Regions from separate parts of the Homo sapiens genome. Here region 1 is linked to region 2. Evidence: promoter capture Hi-C in 16 types of primary human blood cells and fetal thymus (Javierre and others, 2016). All regions are on one chromosome and are shown on one strand. Each heading gives the region's core, a stretch centred on a gene start or on the middle of the fragment in contact. The rest is flanking DNA. Distances are from core to core; before and after follow the strand shown. Region 1 holds the start of B9D1 (B9 domain containing 1). Region 2 holds the start of EPN2 (epsin 2).

Region 1 (5,356 bases), core at 218-2,717, 120 kb after region 2:
AAGCTACCCCTTGGGAAGTCCTGGAAGGAGAGCTCCTACTCTGTCTTTTTACTCCAGGTCCTCCCCACTGGCTGAGGAGAGGCCAAATGGTGAGCGGACTGGCCAGAGTGTCCACAGCTCAGCCACGTCCAGGCTGGCTCACTGGGGCCTGCCTCCTACTGCAGGTGTTGCTCTTTGCTGCCCCGGGGAAGCTCACAGGGTAGGGCTTCTGAGTGCAGTCTTGGTGGATGGATCAGGGAGTCCAACCATGGCTGTGTCCTCTGCTCCCGCTTTACCAGGAACACTCATGTTTGGGTTCCCCTGAACTCAGTCTCTACCTCTTAACTTGTTCTGAATGGGGAGGGGAAGGATATGACACCTTCAGAAACCCCAAAAGTCATGAAGGCGGTAAGGGAGGCCCAAGAGTCCAGCTTACCGCTGTGGGGGCCCAGTCCTGGCCGTACACAAAGCAGTACTTGCAGTAGAGGTCATCATACTCTGGAAACTGAAAAAAGCACAGACAGATTCTGTCGACTGGTATTCATGCTGAGGCCAATGCATTTGCTAGGCAGGTGCAGCCAAGGGGAATTCTGAACGTGAGACACCTGGGAGTGGGTCTAAGAGACGGCTGGAGATGTGTTCAGAGGAGAGGCTGAGGACCAAGAAGCGGGAGTCCACGGGAGACTCCCAGGTGCCACGGCCCCTGGCTTTTGCTCAGGCTCTGCCTTGTCTGATTTGTCCTTCCTACTTCATCCGGAAAACTCCTGCTCACCCTTCAAAACTTACCCTTCAGGGAGCCTGCTCTAACTCTCAAGCTGGTTTAAGGTCTCCTCTTGGCTCCCTTAGCCCCGTGCTTCCCTCCATAAAAGCAATGATTGCCTGTGTCTAAGTCTGTCAGTTCCTCTAGACCATGAGTAGAGAAGAGATTTAATGCCTTTCTGTGTCCCCACTGCCTGGCACAGGGCTGGGCACAGATAAGGTCTAAGGCAGGGGTCCTCAACCAGTCCGTGGCCTGTTAGGAACGGGTCCACACAGCAAGAGGTGAGGAGCAGGCGAGCAAGCAAAGCTTCAACTGTATTTACAGCTGCTCCCCATTGCTCGCATGACCACGGGAGCTCCACCTCCTTGTCAGATCAGTGGCGGCATTAGATTCTCATAGGAGCACGAACCCTACTGTGAACTGCACATGTGGGGGATCTAGGTTGCATGTTCCTTATGAGAATCTAACGCATGATGATCTGTCACTGTCTCCCATCACACCCAGATGGGACCATCTAGTTGCAGGAAAGCAAACTCAGGGCTCCCACTGATTCTACATTATGGTGAGTTGTATAATTATTTCATTATTATTTACAAGGTAATAATAGAAATAAAGTGCACAATAAATGTAATGTCCCCAAATCATCCCAAAACCATCCCTCGCCACCTGGTTTTCCACAAAACCAGTCCCTGGTGCCAAAAAGGTTGAGGACCACTGGTGTAAGGGAATGGTGCTGAAGTGAAAGGTCTGAGAACCCAGGAAGCCATCATATGCAAGGCTGGAGCTGAGGCCCTGAAAAGAGGGAGGTGCTGAGAGCAGAGCAGGGAGGAACAGTGTGACTGTCAGTGTGTGTGTGGCGGGGGGGTCGCTGATGCTGAGAGCACAGACACATGTGACTCAGCCCAGCCGAGAGCCCCTAATAGGAAAGGACAGGAGAGTGGGGAAAGACGGTCTTAGGCACTAGGCTAAGGCAGAGGCGGACAGGGTGGGAGCATGGAGTAGTATCCCTGATGAAATAGGAAGGCAGGAGACACCTACAAAGCATCAGGCCCTGTCAGAGCCTTACCCAAACCGTCTCAGTCAATCCTCACAATAATATTATAAAATAATAATAAACACCACCTCCAACAGCCTGGAAGGACAGTGTAGTGAAGCTTTGAGGTCAGATAGGCGTGGGTTCAATTCCCAGACAGGCCAGTTCCTTTGGTATATTTCCCCAGCTGTAAAATGGGGGTGTTAGTAGTGCCTATCTGGTAAGGCTGTAAGGGTGGACCAGTGCGGAGCACCGACTTTGGGACATATTGAGGACTTGGTGAGCGTTGGTTTATATTTACAATAAATGATTCCTCTAAAGTGTAGGGGGATGGGGAATAGCGTCCCTCGGGCCTAGCAGGCACACCTTCCTTGGGTCAATTCCAGGCCACCACCATTGTTGGATGGTTGGATTCGAACCCGAGTTCAAGGATCTGGGGATTCAGAACGCGGGACAGTAACTCCACACGGGACACAGCGCAAATGCTGGAAACTCGGCCAAGCCTCGGCTCCTCGCGTTAACCCCAGGAGGCTCCTGCCAGTGATCCAAGCAAGTGGGCATGACCCGTGCGAGGGCCCACAGGCTTGCCCGAGTGTGACCTCGGTACTAGCTCAACATCTCGAGGTCTGCTTCTATTCCTGCACATCGGGACTCAGGATCCGGGCAACCTCGCGCCAAGCTCTCCAATGCTGGCTCCCCTCCCCCGCCTAACCGAGAGGCTCAGAGGAATGACGTGGCTCTCCGGGGGCCACAGGGCAGCCCGGGGGGTTGCGGGAAGGGCCCCGGGGGACGCTGGGGGGCGGGCCCCGGCGGGGTCCACGGCCGCTCACCTGGGCGCTCTCCACCTGCCCGTTGACCATGAGTAGAAAGACGCTAGGACTCGCGGTCGCCATGGCAGGTCTGGGGGTGCCGGGGGGACCCACCTAGGCCGCGCGCGGTTGCTAAGAGACGCCGGCGTTGCCCTAGAAACAGACGGCGTAGCGCGCAGGACACGTTTCTTGGCAGCGACACCTTCGCGAAGGCCACGCGAGTGCGCGTGTGGCATGCGCAGGCGCAGTGAACGGGCGCCGTTATAAGGGGGCGGGGCACAAGGGGCGGGGATCCACGCCGAGGCTCCACCCCTCCTTAGGGCAGGTATGACCGAGAGCTGGGGCGGGAGCGTTGACCTGTCGGGTAAAGCCAGCCCTACCGCTCGACTCAGTTGCACGCGCAGGGAGTGTGTGTTCACTCTGACTCGGCCCGGCTCCCCGTCCCCGCCGAAGCGCAGAGGCGAATGAGAGCTGAGTCCTGGGGAGCAGCGCTCCGACTCACGCCCTCAGCAAGCCGAGTGTTTAAAATACATTCAGCCACTAGATGTCGCTGTGGCCCCACCGCGAGGACGCGGAGGGAGGCGCTGCAGAGCACGGGCGACGTGACCACAGCTGTCGGGGCTAACTCTGGAATGCCGGGTGCTCGGAGGAGCCTCCCCAGCTGGGGCCAAGCAGCGTCCAAGCAGGTGAAAAGGATGCGCCCCTGTGGCTTGGAGACGCTTGCCCTCGAAAAAGTTTATTAAACAAACTTGGGAGGGACCTCAAGAATCCTTACATCCAAGCCATCGCTCTTTAGTTCGAAGCTGGGGAAACTGAGGCCCGCAGCGGGCGGCGCCTGGCACCCCAATCAGCCAGCGCTCAGGGGAGTTGCTAGCCAAAATCCACGAATCTGTCAAGATACAGTCTTGTATCTTAGTGGCCTGTCACAGAGTAAGCACTTGGTAACTACTAACTTGTTGATAAATGAATAATTGAAGACATCTCCATTTTACAGAGGAGGAAACAGATTCAGATGGCAAAGGCAGGTAAGTAGCTAAGTCAGGATTCAAACCCAGGACTCCAGAGGCTAACAACCCTCACTGCCTCTGTCTTGTCCTGGGCCAGCCCCAACAGCATCTGTTGGCAGAGGTGTCAAAGGAGACGTTGGAGACATTATCTTGGATCCAGGAAATGAAGGGATTCACAGGTGTGTAGACTCCCGGGAGGCCAGGCTCCGAGCAGGGACCCCAGGTCATCACATTCTGCAGCTTCTAGCTTGGGAGCAGACTAGGGGAGTCCCATCAACCATCTGCACGAGGGAGGGAAGGAGCAGTCTCAGCCCAGCCTGCACCCACTGAACCACCCCCTGCCTAGTGAGCAAAGATATTTGATCAGGGGAGGGAGGCAGCGGGTAACCAGTTCACACATCTGACAAGAGCAGCTGGGGGAGGGGATGGGTGGGCTGGTGGCCCAAGTGCTGCACCCAGAGCCCAAGACAGGGCCCATTTCCCCTCCTGGAGAGGGGGTCATACTCCCTTCTTCCCCCGCTCTGTCCATCTCTTTCCAGTTAAAGTGCTTTCTCCCACACATTCTATCAGTCTCACCCAATTATTTCCTCCCTTTGGCCTTTGAGGCTCGGTGTTGCACACAAGTTAGTTTTCAGCAAAATGCTTGTAGTTATCGAATAACTGGGGGCTCCCAGTAGTTTAAGACCTGGCTATACCAAAGGTGGCCCCACATTCAAATAGGACATAATGGGGGAGTCTCCCCAAGGGGTGGGAAGTTCTAGGGTGGCCTTCAGGGGTACAAATAAGCCCGACCCCTGGGTGTTGGGGAATGGAAGACTCCAGGATAGGATGGGAGGGTGACCAGGCCTAACTTTAACAAGTCTAGTGGCATTAGAAGCGACTTTAGGAGAGGGGTCTCAGGGGCTTGCATAGGGGCTTGCATAGGGCCTGCTGGAATCCTTACCACCAGTTCAAGGGCCCAGTGGAGAGCCTGGTGTACTAGAAGTCCTTGGGCAGGCTGTCCTTCAGGTCAGGACAGTCAGGTTGGAGGAGAAGGTAGTTTCTGCAGATGCTGACACACAGCGATCTCAGCAGGACACTCTGCAGCTCTTGGGGTGGGATGTAGGGATCTGCAATGGGGTGGGGCAGACCCTCAGCCCAGCTGACATCCAGCCGATCTGCACCAGTCCAGCCATGCTGGTTGTTAACATATATTGCTGAGCTTCCCTGCCTGTGCCTGTGCCAAGTCTCTCCACCCCCAGATGCCTTCCTGGGCTCCTAGACATTCCTCGCTCCCACCTCACTCTTAGTACAGCTCTGTCCTCTGGTACACTCCCACGCAGTCCCCTCAGGGAAGCTTCCAGCACATTGGGCAGGCGGGGCTGTCAGCCATTGGGCAGGGGTGAGGCTGGAAGCTGGCTTGAGCAGAGCAGGTGTCAGCGCCAGCCCTCTTCCCTGCATGCCTATGGCCATGGTGCTGCCGGGCAGCTGGCCAGAGCCCCTGCAGGGTCCCAAGCTCCACCCTGGCCATCTGCCTCCCCCAGTCTCTCAACCATCCCAGGCTTCTGCTCCCATCCTTACTGAAATCGGGTTCAAACCCCTGGCCCCAGCAGAGCTGTCTCAGGAAGAGGGAACAGTGGGATTGAGTGGCCAGGGGGACGGCCTGCACAGCGCTGGTGAGCGACGGAGGCCTTGCCCCTTGCCAGTTGTGCCAGGACCAGGCTACCAAACCCAGAGCCCTCGGGCCCTGCTGAGGACAAGAGCAGCTCCCCCATGGTAACCTGATCTC
Region 2 (5,452 bases), core at 1,889-4,388:
AATAGTTTTGAATATAGAGTTCAAGCCTTTGGTGAAGATCCCGGGGAGCCTGTTCTGCACCTGTGCTAAGTGATTCTTTTCATTCAGCATGCAGTCTGTCCCTGTCTGCTGCCTGCCAGTCTTTCCCCCAAAGTCCCTTCCTGCTTGAAACCCTCCTTCCCTAACCCCAGAGACACCCCTGGCCTGCACTGCCAGCTCTTTCTTCTGAAATACACCTCTCCAACCGGCCCCCATCAGTCTGCTCCATTATCCACCTGGAACCAACCTCCAAACCTCTGCAAGGGCAGATGAGAGTGTCTCCTCCAGCCCTGTTTTCCATGGACTGCTTTGGGCACGGATGAAATTGTTCAGCTTATCCTGCAAGTTCCTCTGCAAGACTGCTTATGTGCTCTAGACTCATAGAACCTGGAATTGAATCCTAGCCCTGCCACATGCTGCCTCAGTTTCCGCATCTAAAATAGGAATAGGGCTGCTGACGTCAAGGGATCATCATGAGGATGAATTGAGAGAGGAATGCCAGGGGGCTGATACGCTTCAAGGAGGGGGTCCAGGAAAGAGAAATGACTTTGAGGAATGCAAGAATGTCCCCTCTGACCTTGCACGTGGCGGTCTTCCGGCCTCAGGACACCCTCCTCCACTTCCCAAGCCTGGGCTAATCTGGTATTCTCCAACTCACTTCCTGTCCTGTAGGTTAGCTCATCATCTCATTATCTGTATCCAGTTCTCTTTCCAGGCTTGCATATTATCTGTGCGGCTACACACACTTGCTAGGTGGGTAGTGAAGGGAGTATTAGGCTCTGCATATGGAAAAGTGGGCCTGGGTGGCCAAGCCCCAGCATATCTCCAAACCTCAATTTCTTGTCTGTAAAATGTGAACAGCAAGAATGTGCACCTTGCTGGGCACGGTGGCTCACACCTGTAATCCCAACACTTTGGGAGGCTGAGGCGGGAGGATCACGAGGTCAGGAGTTCGAGACCAGCCTGGCCAACATGGTGAAACCCTGTCTCTACTAAAAATACAAAAATTAGCCAGGTGTGGGGGTGCGGGCCTGTAATCCCAGCCACGTGGGAGGCTGAGGCAGGAGAATCACTTGAACCTGGGAGATGGAGGTTGCAGTGAGCTGAGATTGTGCCATTGCATTTCAGCCTGGGCAATAGAGTGAGACTCCGTCTCAAAACAAATAAATAAAAAAAGAATGTGCACTTGTGGAATTGTGGTAAGGTTTTAGACCAGCACTGGTCAGCATGGTAGCATCTAGCCACATATGGCTATTTACATTTAAATTAATAAAAGTTTAATGAAGTTTAAAAAATTCAGCCCCTCAGTCTCACTAGCCACATTTCAAGTGCTCGCTGGCCTCCTGTGACTCGTAGCTATCCTACGGACAGCACGCAGAAAGAACATTTCCATCGTGGAGGGAAATTCTGCTGAACAGTGCTGATTTAGAAGCATCACGCCCGTGCTGTGCATCAGCTCTGTGTTATAACTCATCTGACATTGTAAACTCAGGGCAGAAGCATGATTGCAGTGTAAAGTTCTGCTTTCCTTGGAGATGGGGTAAAGAGGTGAGGCTCACAAGGAATGTTGGACTGGTTGAGGGCATTCTCTGGGATGAGGGTGGACCAAGTTCAAAACGGGGAGCTCCGGCTTCTGCTGCAAGGCAGGCACATAGGGCATAATTCCCTCTGCTGGTGGAGAAGGGGCACCAAGCAGTGGGAAGGGTGGTTAACTGGAGAGTGTTTCTAGCATCTAGAGCTACCAGTGTTTGACTTTTCAAAGGAAAAGTGGCTATGTGGTTTTGCAAACGTGTTACAAGCTCTCTCCATTTTTATCGTATTTATTGTATCACTAGCTAGACTAATAAAGAAAAAAGAGAAGATACAAGTAAACATAATCAGAAAGGGCAAAGAGGACATTACCACCGACCCCATACAAACACAAAAAAGCCCTCAAAAACTATTATGAACACGTCTATGCACACACACTAAAAAACTTACAATAAATAGATGAATTCCTGGAAAGATACAACCTTTTTTTTTTTTGCCAGAGAATGGAATTCCAGATCCTGGGTTGTTAGAACCTTAAGGGATACTTTCATCCCCTGGTTCCTGTACAGGGAGGAGGAATCTGAGGCTCAGAGAAGTACAGTGACTTGTTTAAGGTCCCTCAGTGAGTTAGGGCAGAGGAAGACTTCTGGCCACAGCTTCCCTGAAGCCAAGGCTAGGCAGAGTGTTGATGTCACCCAGGCAACAGGGATGGTGCCCTCTGCCCACCTAGCAAGCCCTGACTCATGCTCCGCGCCCCTGCTGTGAGAAGTCTCTGCTGACTCCCACCCTGATTGGAGCAGGTTAGTCAGCTTTGAGGTGCAGCCTCCAGTTCTGGCCCCTCCAGTTCCGGGACTCTCATTCGAGGCATTTGGGGCTGTCTCATTTCTGTGCCCAGCACAGGGCTTGGCACAGAGGAGGTGCTTTGTGGGTGCCCGCCAGTCAAGGGTTTCCGTTTTCGTGCCATGTAGGTAACCCCTTGCCATTCGTGCCCTTAGGTAACCCCTTGAGCAGCCTAAAGAAGCCTAGAGACTTCTCCGTTTTTGAGTATATTTTATTGACGTGAAATACACGCACGGAAAAGCGCACAAATCCAAAGTGTACTTCCGCGCATCTTCATAAAGTGAACACACTTGTAGCCTAAGAACCCAACCCTACCAGCGCCCGGCAGGCCCTGGCCCCCTTCCAGTCTCTCCTACTGAACAAGGTTTTTGAGTGAAACCGGCAGGCCGGAGCGTGAGTTTCTGCTTGACGGGGCGGGGTCTGCGCGTGCTGCCCGGCCGTGAGTGTGGGGGGGCCGTGAGTGTGTACGGGGTGGAGTGGCCTGAAGGGGATTAGAGTGCGCGCGTTCGGGTATTAATTTGCCAGGGTTTGTGTGGCGCTCGGGATTGGGGGTTTTTTGGGGGCTCGGGCGTCGACTGTGGGGCGCTGCGGAAGGGTGGGTCGTCCGCGTGGGGTCCTGGAGCGCAGGAGGCGGAGGGGAAGCCGCGCAGGGGCCACTAGGGAGGGGCTCTGGCGGGGTCGCAGGGGCGTGGTCTGCGGGCGTGGGGGCGGGACCTCGGGGCCTCGGGGGCGGGGCCTGAGGGCGCGCGCACGCGTCCGGCGCGCCCCCTCCCGGCCGCCATGTTGGCTGGTGTGTGGGTGTCAAACTGAGCCAGACGCGGCGGTGGCGGCGGCTCCGCGGGCTACGGTCGCTCCCGCCTCTCGAGCGCTGCCGGTGGCCGCAGCGGCGCACCCACGCCGGCCCGGAGGAGCAGAGGTGAGCCACAGCCCGTGGGGCTCCAAGGCCAGAGCGAGTCCCCGGGGCGAGGACCCTCCCCCTCTCCAGGGCGCGGACGCCCCCAGAGCACAGGCTCCCCTACCTCACCAGCCCCGCCAGGGCATGCGCCCCTGCCGCCCCGCTGGTCCCTACGCCAGGCTCTGGGGGATCCCCTTCTTTCCAACCAGGCCCCGCCCCACGGACTGGAGCATGGCCCCCTTCCCATCTGGATCCAGCTTTCCGCTGCAAGGATCTCCCCCCTTACCCGTCCCTATCACCGAGCATCTCCTTTTATGTCCCCAGAGTCCAGGGCGCCCCTTACTCCTACCTCGGATCCTGGAGCCCCGTTCATCTTGGAACAACCCCGCCCCCTCCCCAGAGCACGTTCCTCCTCTCCCCGAGCCCGGCGCCCCTTCCTCCTGAGCCCAGCCTGGTCTCCCGCCAGCCCCCGTGCAGAGCCCGGTCCGGGCGCCCTCCGGGAATCGGGGGAGGGGTCCTTATCTCTGTCCGGGATCCCGCCCGTCTCACCTTTCCTGGGGGCTGTAGCAGGGCCCCCTTCCGTCCTTGGGGACCAGGCTCCCCACTCCCCAGCCCCCACTCCCACGGAACAGCGGGGACGGGGGCGGAAGAGCCAGGCTCCAGCTGCCTTTTGTTCCGCGTGGGATGGCAGAGACCCACCCGGCCCGGCGGTCCTGCTCGGCTGATCCGGGTGGGTGAATGGGTGCGTGGGGTCTGGCCTCTTCCAGGAGAGACTTCCTCTCTCTCCCTGTGGGGCGGCTCCCCTAGAGCCGAGAGCCGAGCGCGTTGGGAGGCTGGCCTTTGCTAGAGGAGTCGGTGCCAACAGGTTTTTGTTTGCGACCTGAAGTTTGCCCAGTGGCTTTCCCTGGGGCAGCTTGAGCTCCCTGTGAATCCCCCCGCCGGAGCTTGTGGAAGGCCGTTTCTCCGCCCAAGGAGTCCGTCTGGGCGACTCCTTCACAGTTGTGCTTCCCTGGGGACGTATCTAAAATCTGTGCTTTAAGAGCGGAGAGGGCTTAACCATCATTAGGGTTCAGATGAGGGAAACTGAGGCCCAGAACTGCAGTAATTTGCCCAAGGTCACGCAGTGATACTGTGTCAGTGCAGAACTAGAAGCTAGGTCTCCAGGCTCTGTTTACCACATTTAATAACTTTTTTATCTTTTAGGGAGATGTTCAGGACCCTACCTTCCCCTTTATTTTTAATATTTATGCAAGAAAGTGGGCAGGAAAATATGAGAAGTAATGAGTTATTCCTTTTCACCTCCAGAAAATATCCTGTGAAAGAAGGGATTGGAACAGGGTGTTAAAATGATGGGAAAAGGTGAATTTTAAGAATCCAAGCTTCCTCTCATTATGTAATATAACGAAGATTTGGCAGAAAACGTGCCTCTTGTAGCTCTAGATACAGAATTTTAGGTGCTGACAAAATCTTATGCTGAATCTGGCACAGCAGTGATTGAGTTAGCATTGATAATTAAGTTTTCATCTGTATTTAAATGAACATCAAAAGGGACTACAATTTGCTTCTGAATGGTACTTGTTCGGTGCTTGTTTTTGGGACAAGTGATTGTGTTGGGGAAGCGCACCTAAACTTTTAAATTTTTTATTTATTTATTTTTTTGAGACGGAGTCTCTGTCACCCAGGCTAGAGTGCAGTGGCACGATCTCGGCTCACCGAAACCTCCGCCTCCTGGGTTCAAGCGATTCTCCTGCCTCAGCCTCCGGAGTAGCTGGGATTACAGGCGCACGCCATCCACCACGCCCGGCTAATCTTTGTATTTTTAGTAGAGACGGGATTTCGCCACGTTGGCCAGGCTGGTCTCGAACTCCTGACCTCATGTGATCCGCCCACCTCGGCCTCCCAAAGTGCTGGGATTACAGGCGTGAGCCAACACTCCCGGCCTAAATCTTTTATTTATCTGTATTTTTACTTTTACATTTTAAAAGCTTATTTATTTCCCTGGTTTTAAAATTGGGCTAGTCATCTTTACCAGTCTCACTGGGCTATTCTTTTGTAAGCAGGGAATGAGATACTGGTTATTAAAGATTTTGGTAAAGTGTAAGTTACTGTAAGGCATGATTCAGGACTGCGTCCCACAAGTCCCCGGACCAGGAGCCAGTTCGGATTGTC

What was found. Contacts are between HindIII fragments. The CHiCAGO score rates a contact against its expected background, and 5 or more counts as called.
Region 1: a contact is called between a fragment that was not itself captured here and the fragment with the promoter of EPN2 in region 2, in 5 of 17 cell types (naive B cells, endothelial precursors, total B cells and 2 more). The highest score is 8.1, in naive B cells.

What each region holds. Positions count from the first base shown.
Region 1 is chr17:19,359,905-19,365,260 of GRCh38, forward strand. It overlaps B9D1 (B9 domain containing 1), which reads right to left and starts at 2,819. Exons shown (of 7, transcript NM_015681.6): 1 at 2,603-2,819; 2 at 416-484. The coding sequence starts at 2,665. It overlaps LOC105371573 (a long non-coding RNA gene), which reads left to right and starts at 2,873. Exons shown (of 3, transcript XR_934302.4): 1 at 2,873-3,267; 2 at 3,576-3,606. RefSeq lists enhancers at 2,279-2,418, 2,878-3,662, 3,219-3,288 and a silencer at 2,459-2,728. The HindIII fragment of the contact is 848 bases long and covers 1,044-1,891 here.
Region 2 is chr17:19,234,228-19,239,679 of GRCh38, forward strand. It overlaps EPN2 (epsin 2), which reads left to right and starts at 3,139. Exons shown (of 11, transcript NM_014964.5): 1 at 3,139-3,304. RefSeq lists a silencer at 3,047-3,516. The HindIII fragment of the contact is 5,263 bases long and covers 1-4,660 here.